Regions from separate parts of the Homo sapiens genome. Here region 1 is linked to region 2. Evidence: promoter capture Hi-C in 16 types of primary human blood cells and fetal thymus (Javierre and others, 2016). All regions are on one chromosome and are shown on one strand. The core of a region is centred on a gene start or on the middle of the fragment in contact, and the rest is flanking DNA. Distances in the headings are between cores, read along the strand shown.

What was found. Contacts are between HindIII fragments. The CHiCAGO score rates a contact against its expected background, and 5 or more counts as called.
Region 1: a fragment that was not itself captured here is called in contact with the fragment with the promoter of DELEC1 in region 2 in 1 of 17 cell types (M0 macrophages); the score reaches 5.6 in M0 macrophages.

The regions. Positions count from the first base shown.
Region 1 is chr9:114,665,193-114,668,046 of GRCh38, reverse strand. It overlaps TEX48 (testis expressed 48), which reads left to right. Exons shown (of 5, transcript NM_001199233.2): 5 at 1,301-1,613. The coding sequence ends at 1,404. Among named protein-coding and RNA genes, the nearest start is that of TEX53, 8.8 kb to the right of the region's middle. The HindIII fragment of the contact is 802 bases long and covers 894-1,695 here.
Region 2 is chr9:115,140,548-115,143,332 of GRCh38, reverse strand. It overlaps DELEC1 (deleted in esophageal cancer 1), which reads right to left and starts at 1,515. Exons shown (of 8, transcript NR_163556.2): 1 at 1,465-1,515. The HindIII fragment of the contact is 2,096 bases long and covers 1-1,859 here.

The DNA of each region.
Region 1 (2,854 bases), core at 45-2,544, 480 kb after region 2:
ACCCTAGAGGCTAAGACCTGACTCCACTATCTTCCAAGCTAGGAAGTGCATGAGAAGGAGCAGGTCTGGGGGGAAGGGCAAACATCCATGCTTTCCTTTCAAAGCTTTGTGGCATCATCTTTTTTTTTTTTTTTTTTTTTTGAGATGGAGTCTCCCTCTGTTGTCTAGGCTTGAGTGCAGTGGTGCAGTCTCCAATCTCAGCTCACTGCAACTTCCACCTCCCAGGTTCAAGTGATTCTCCTGTCTCAGCTTCCTGAGTAGCTGAGATTACAGGCGCCCACCAACATGCCTGGTTAATTTTTGTATTCTTAGTAGAAAAAGGGTTTCACCATGTTGGCCAGGCTGGTCACGAACTCCTGACCTCAAGTGATCCACCTACCTTGGCCTCCCAAAGTGCTGGGATTACAGGTGTAACCACCGCACCTGGCGGCATCATCTTACACGTGTATTTTTCATATGCTTACTTGATGTCTACTTTGGCCACTAGACAGTAAGTGCCAGGAGGGCAGGGGCCCACATCAGTTTTATTCCCTGTTATGCCCCCAGATCCAGCCAGGTGCATGGCAAGTAAACAATGCCAGAAAACACTTGTGGATTGAGTGTAGTTCAACTGGGGGTGAAATGCCTCTGGGTCACAGAAGAACAGATGCCCAATCCCAGGACAGTGGCACAGCCCAGGAAGAAGAAATGCAGCCACATTGCTGGGCGCCAGTTCTATCCCCAGGTGGTCTCACATAACTCACAACCACCCCAGGAGTCCTGTTGAGAACTAAGGATTATCCAACCCAGTCATTTTGAATTCCCCTAACAACTAAACCCCCTTGAAAACAGCATTTCACAGAGTCCATTTTCTATAAAAGATCAAAGAGGAACAGCTCTGCTTGAATCAAGCTTGAGAAGGTAGGAACCCCACTAGCTCGCCCACTCCTTCCTTCTGCCCTTCCCACCCCCCCATAGGGGTGAGGCTCACAGAGGGAAAGGGACTTCCCACGAGTGCACTAGGGAATGACGTAAGTGTCAGAGCCAGGATGGGCCCAAGTCTCCTACCTTCCATATCACTGTGCTTTGCAAGACAGCCTACTGTCACTGAAGCCACCAACGTAACACAATGCAAAATACACTGCAAGAAACTCCTCCTATCACAAAAGACTTCCAAGTCCTAGACTAGGGTCTGCCTTGGGTCCCTTGAGATTCAAGAAGCTGAGGAATGATCAGCAATGGATACAAACAACCAAAACAGTTCATCAAAGCCCAATTCAAAGGCCTTCACCCAGCATAATTTTTTCCTTTCTTCTTTCAGATCTGAATGCATATGCTTCCCAAAGAAATTTTTACAAGAGAAACTTAAACCGCTACTGCCAGGAGCACTGGCCATTCCAGCCATGCCTCACTGGGAGGCCCTGAGCATTCTAGCCGGCGGCTGCACAGCTGCTGGGGCATCTCCATGAGGAAGAGGGCGGTGGACAGGAGTCATGAAGACTAATTCGGAAACTCCCCTGAAGGAGGAGAAGACATCTGAGCCATCCTTGTGCCACCAAGCAAGAGTCACTCCAGCTCCTAAAAAGCCACCATGGGAAGAGCTGCCTCCAATTAAAGTTCTTGATTGCACCAGAGGATGTGTCCTTCTCTTTTCCTTTCCCCCTTACCAACTAATGTCTTATTATTTTTAAATATATTGTCACATCTAACTAAGCTTAAAAAATTTAGCCTATTGGCTGGGCGCAGTGGCTCACGCCTGTAATCCCAACACTTTGGGAGACCGAGGCAGGTGGATCACATGAGGTCATAAGTTCAAGACCAGCCTGGCCAATGCGGTGAAACCCCATCTGTGCTAAAAATAAAAAAATCTGCCAGGTGTGGTGGCGTGCTCCTGTAATCTCAGCTACTAGGGAGGCTGAGGCAGGAGAATCACTTGAACCCAGGAGGCAGAGGTTGCAATGAGCTGAGATCTCGCCGCTGCACTCCAGCCTGGGTAACAGAGTGAGACTCCGTGAAAGAAAGAAAGGAAGGGAAGGGGGAAGGGGGAAGGGAAGAAAGAAAAAAGAGAGAGAGAGGAAGGAGAAAACAGCTTTTTGGATACCTTCTGAAATAATTCCAAATTTACAGAAATGTCACAAGAATAATACAGAGAACTCCCATTTACCTTTTACCCAGAGTCACCAATTGTTTAATCTACATTTTCCCCATTTGCACCATTTCAGCTCACTGCAACCTCCGCCTCCTGAGTTCAAGTGATTGAACTCAGTTCAATCCTGCCTCAGCCTCCCGAGTAGCTGGGATTACAAGTGCCTGCCACCAGGCCTGGCTAATTTTTGTATTTTTAGTAGAGATGGGGTTTCACCATGTTGGCCAGGCTGGTCTCGAACTCCTGACCTCAGGTGATCCGCCCTCCTCAACCTCCCAAAGTGCGGGATTACAGGCGTGAGCCACTGTGCCAGGCCAAGGTATATCTTTATTAACAGCATGAGAACGGATTAATACGGTGTATCTTTAGGGTTAATTTTTCAGCATGGACTTTTGAGCCAAATGGAAAAGATATATACAGTTTTGTTAGATGCTGCCAAGTTCTGTTCTGTAAGAGTATATGATATCTGAGATACCTGTTTCCTCATGCCCTCAGCAACTGTTTAGGCTCTCCCAATCCTACAGGTGAGAAACGGTATCTCATTTTGGTTTTAACCTGCATTTCCCTTACCATGAGTGAAGACTAACATCTATTCATATGTTTAAGGGTCATTTTTATATGTTTTTATTAATGATCTGTTTATGTCTTCCACTCTTTTTTCTTTTTCCTGTTTCCTGTTAATTTTTGAGTGCTCTTTATATACTAGAAATACTAGCTCCTCAAAGTCAA
Region 2 (2,785 bases), core at 266-2,765:
ATTCAATAAATAGGTATCAAGCACCTCCAATGTATAAGGAGGTATTCTAGGAACTGATGATGCAGTTTTAAACTAAACAATATTTCTGCCTTCGTGGAGCCATTTCTTTCAGTTAAAAAAATGCTATGAAGCAAAAGAATGCAGAATAATAGGATGGACAGCAATAGTAATGGTGTTGCTAGAAATAAACACTAGATCCTTTTTCCCTGTGTTCACACAGTTCTCCTCTTTTTGAATCCCAAACTCTCCTGCCCACTGACCACAGGTCTCCAGGGAGGATGAATAAAGGGTTAGATTCTGTTGAATTGAGTCATCTGACATCATTTAAATAAAGTTGTGGACACCAATAGAAGAGTACATGGTCATCAACAGGACGGATAGAGTTGGGTGTCGCTTTGGAGACCCTTGGAGATGCACAGCTATGCTCGGTCTCCAGGCTTGTCATAGTTGAAACTACAGAGGCGATTCTTGGAGAAGGACATTTCCCCCCAAAGAGGCAGTCCTCAATAATGCCATCTTTGTTGCAGCAGAACATCGGCAACCTTGTTCTGAGCTGAGTCCAAGTTGAGGGGAAAGAGGGGAACAGCCAGCTGTGAAAAGATCAATTTGTTTCCAATCCATTCTTTCTTATGGTTAGAGAGGCTGGCTCCCCACACTGGCTGGGTCTGTCAGGGACAGATGCCAAGTAGGGCACAGACTGAAGAAACACCCCCTGTTCCCACTGAAGCAGGAGCATTCAGCCTCTGCTCTGAGTAAGCCTCAGAGTCTATGGCATTAGCCATCCCCTAGTTAGGTTGCTTTGGGGAGACACAAGTTGGGGCAGATGAGAGGGACGCCCCAAGTCTAATTCAAAACTACAATTATTCAAACCCTCCATTTATTTATGTTTGTAAATACCCAGTGTTGGCAGGTTGTGGGAAAGCAGGGGTTACCATATACCATAGCTGAGAGTGTAAATTGGTATAACCTCTTAAGAAAACCATTTGGCAGAATCTATGGAAATTGAAAGTGCATAGACCCTATGTTACAGACAGTCTACTTCTAGGAATTTATCCTTCAGATAAATTCTCAGAAGTGCACCCAGATGAATGCACAAGGAGGATGTTTATTACAGCATTGTTTGTCACAGAAAAAGTCCAGAATCAACTGAACATTATGTTGTAGAGTAAAAGAATGAGCCACACATAGAAAGAGGTCTGAGAGAAAAAGGAGGAAGGAATATTCAGTTTGGTATGCATGGTAAAAATCTATTTATTATACATAAAGTTAACCCCTGCATCAACATGTATGTTTTACATCCTGTTGGATCTCTGCTAATACCTCTGTCTGTTCCTACCCCTATCCCAAGATTCAATAATACAAGGCAAGAAGACTCCTGTACGGCCCTGTGGATGTGCAAGATGCTAAGAATGAGTGGATATTACAGATAGATGTAAAAGTAGGAACCTTGCCAGCCTCTATTACCTTTCCTCAGTAGATCTGTCTTCCTGGGCCAGGGTGAGGTAGAAACAATAGCTAGATGAGTAATCAGTGGCTTGTATGGCTTGGCATTTTTCCTGAGCTCCCTTTGGAGAGGGAACTAAGACCATACTCAGTATTTTCAGGTTTTCAGTCTCTTCATAATTGACGGCCCATTCCCTCCTCTTATCAAATTGCACAGAGATCAAATGTGAAGGAGCCTGAAAGAAAGGACAGCGTGTATTGCTCAATTAAGAATTTGCTCCCTTCCAGCTCTAAAACATCCCCAAATTTTCCAGTTGCAAATGTTACCAAATTTACAATGACCACCAAATGTTGAATAAAACATATGTAATTCTACCCATCCTGGCAATAATTCACTGTGGAGTTTTGGTCAAGCTTCCTGCTCTCAGTCAGCCTCAGTTTTCCCTGTGGTTCATGTGATAAGGACTATGTACCTAGGGGGGCAAGAGCAGATCACCTGTGCCCCTCTCTCCCTGCTTCCTCTGACAGGCATAGCTAATCAATCACAACATGCTTTCCTACAGATCTCAGATGATTCCTCTGACTACTTCTTGACACAGAATTGTAAGCAATCACAAATATTTAATCCAAATTGATGTAAAAGTCAACATTTAATTGTCCTCTCCATACTAGATGATATCTGAAGTTCATTCCAGATTTAACATTCTGTTTCCACAATTCAAGGATTCATTTGAACGCCAGCTCGTTCATGAAGTCAACCTAGATTGCTGAAGAACAAGTTAATTTTTCCTGTTTCTGACTTATGGAGACAGAGCTATATAAGTCGATATGAACTTGACTTCTGGTTTCTTTGCATTGTTATCTCATTGTCACCTGTATAACAATGCTGCCTCCATGGGGAAATTTAATTTAAGTATAGAAAGTACATCCCATATAATAATTTTCAGACTGTGATGCATAGTACCCCCAGAGTTACTCAAAGATTTTCCATGGGCTCTAGTTGGCAGAGATAAGGAAATTTTCAGATTCTCAGCTTTCATTTGCACTCTTTCTCAGGAATCTGAAGAGAGTCCCTTTTTCGTAAATGCTTTTCTCTCACTTTACAAATGGAATTCATACCTCTCACTCATCTCGAGTTGCTTTGGGGTATAAAAATTTCTGGGGGACCAAACAAAGGTACAACTCAAAATTCTTTCGAGAAAAAGTGTTGAGAAAGTGAATGACTAATGACCTTGCAGCAAATCATTCTGCAAGTCAGATGACTTTCAATGCTTTAGTTACAACAAAACTGAAGGGGAACCTAATTAAAATGTCACCTGAGAAAGTATTAAAAATCCTATTT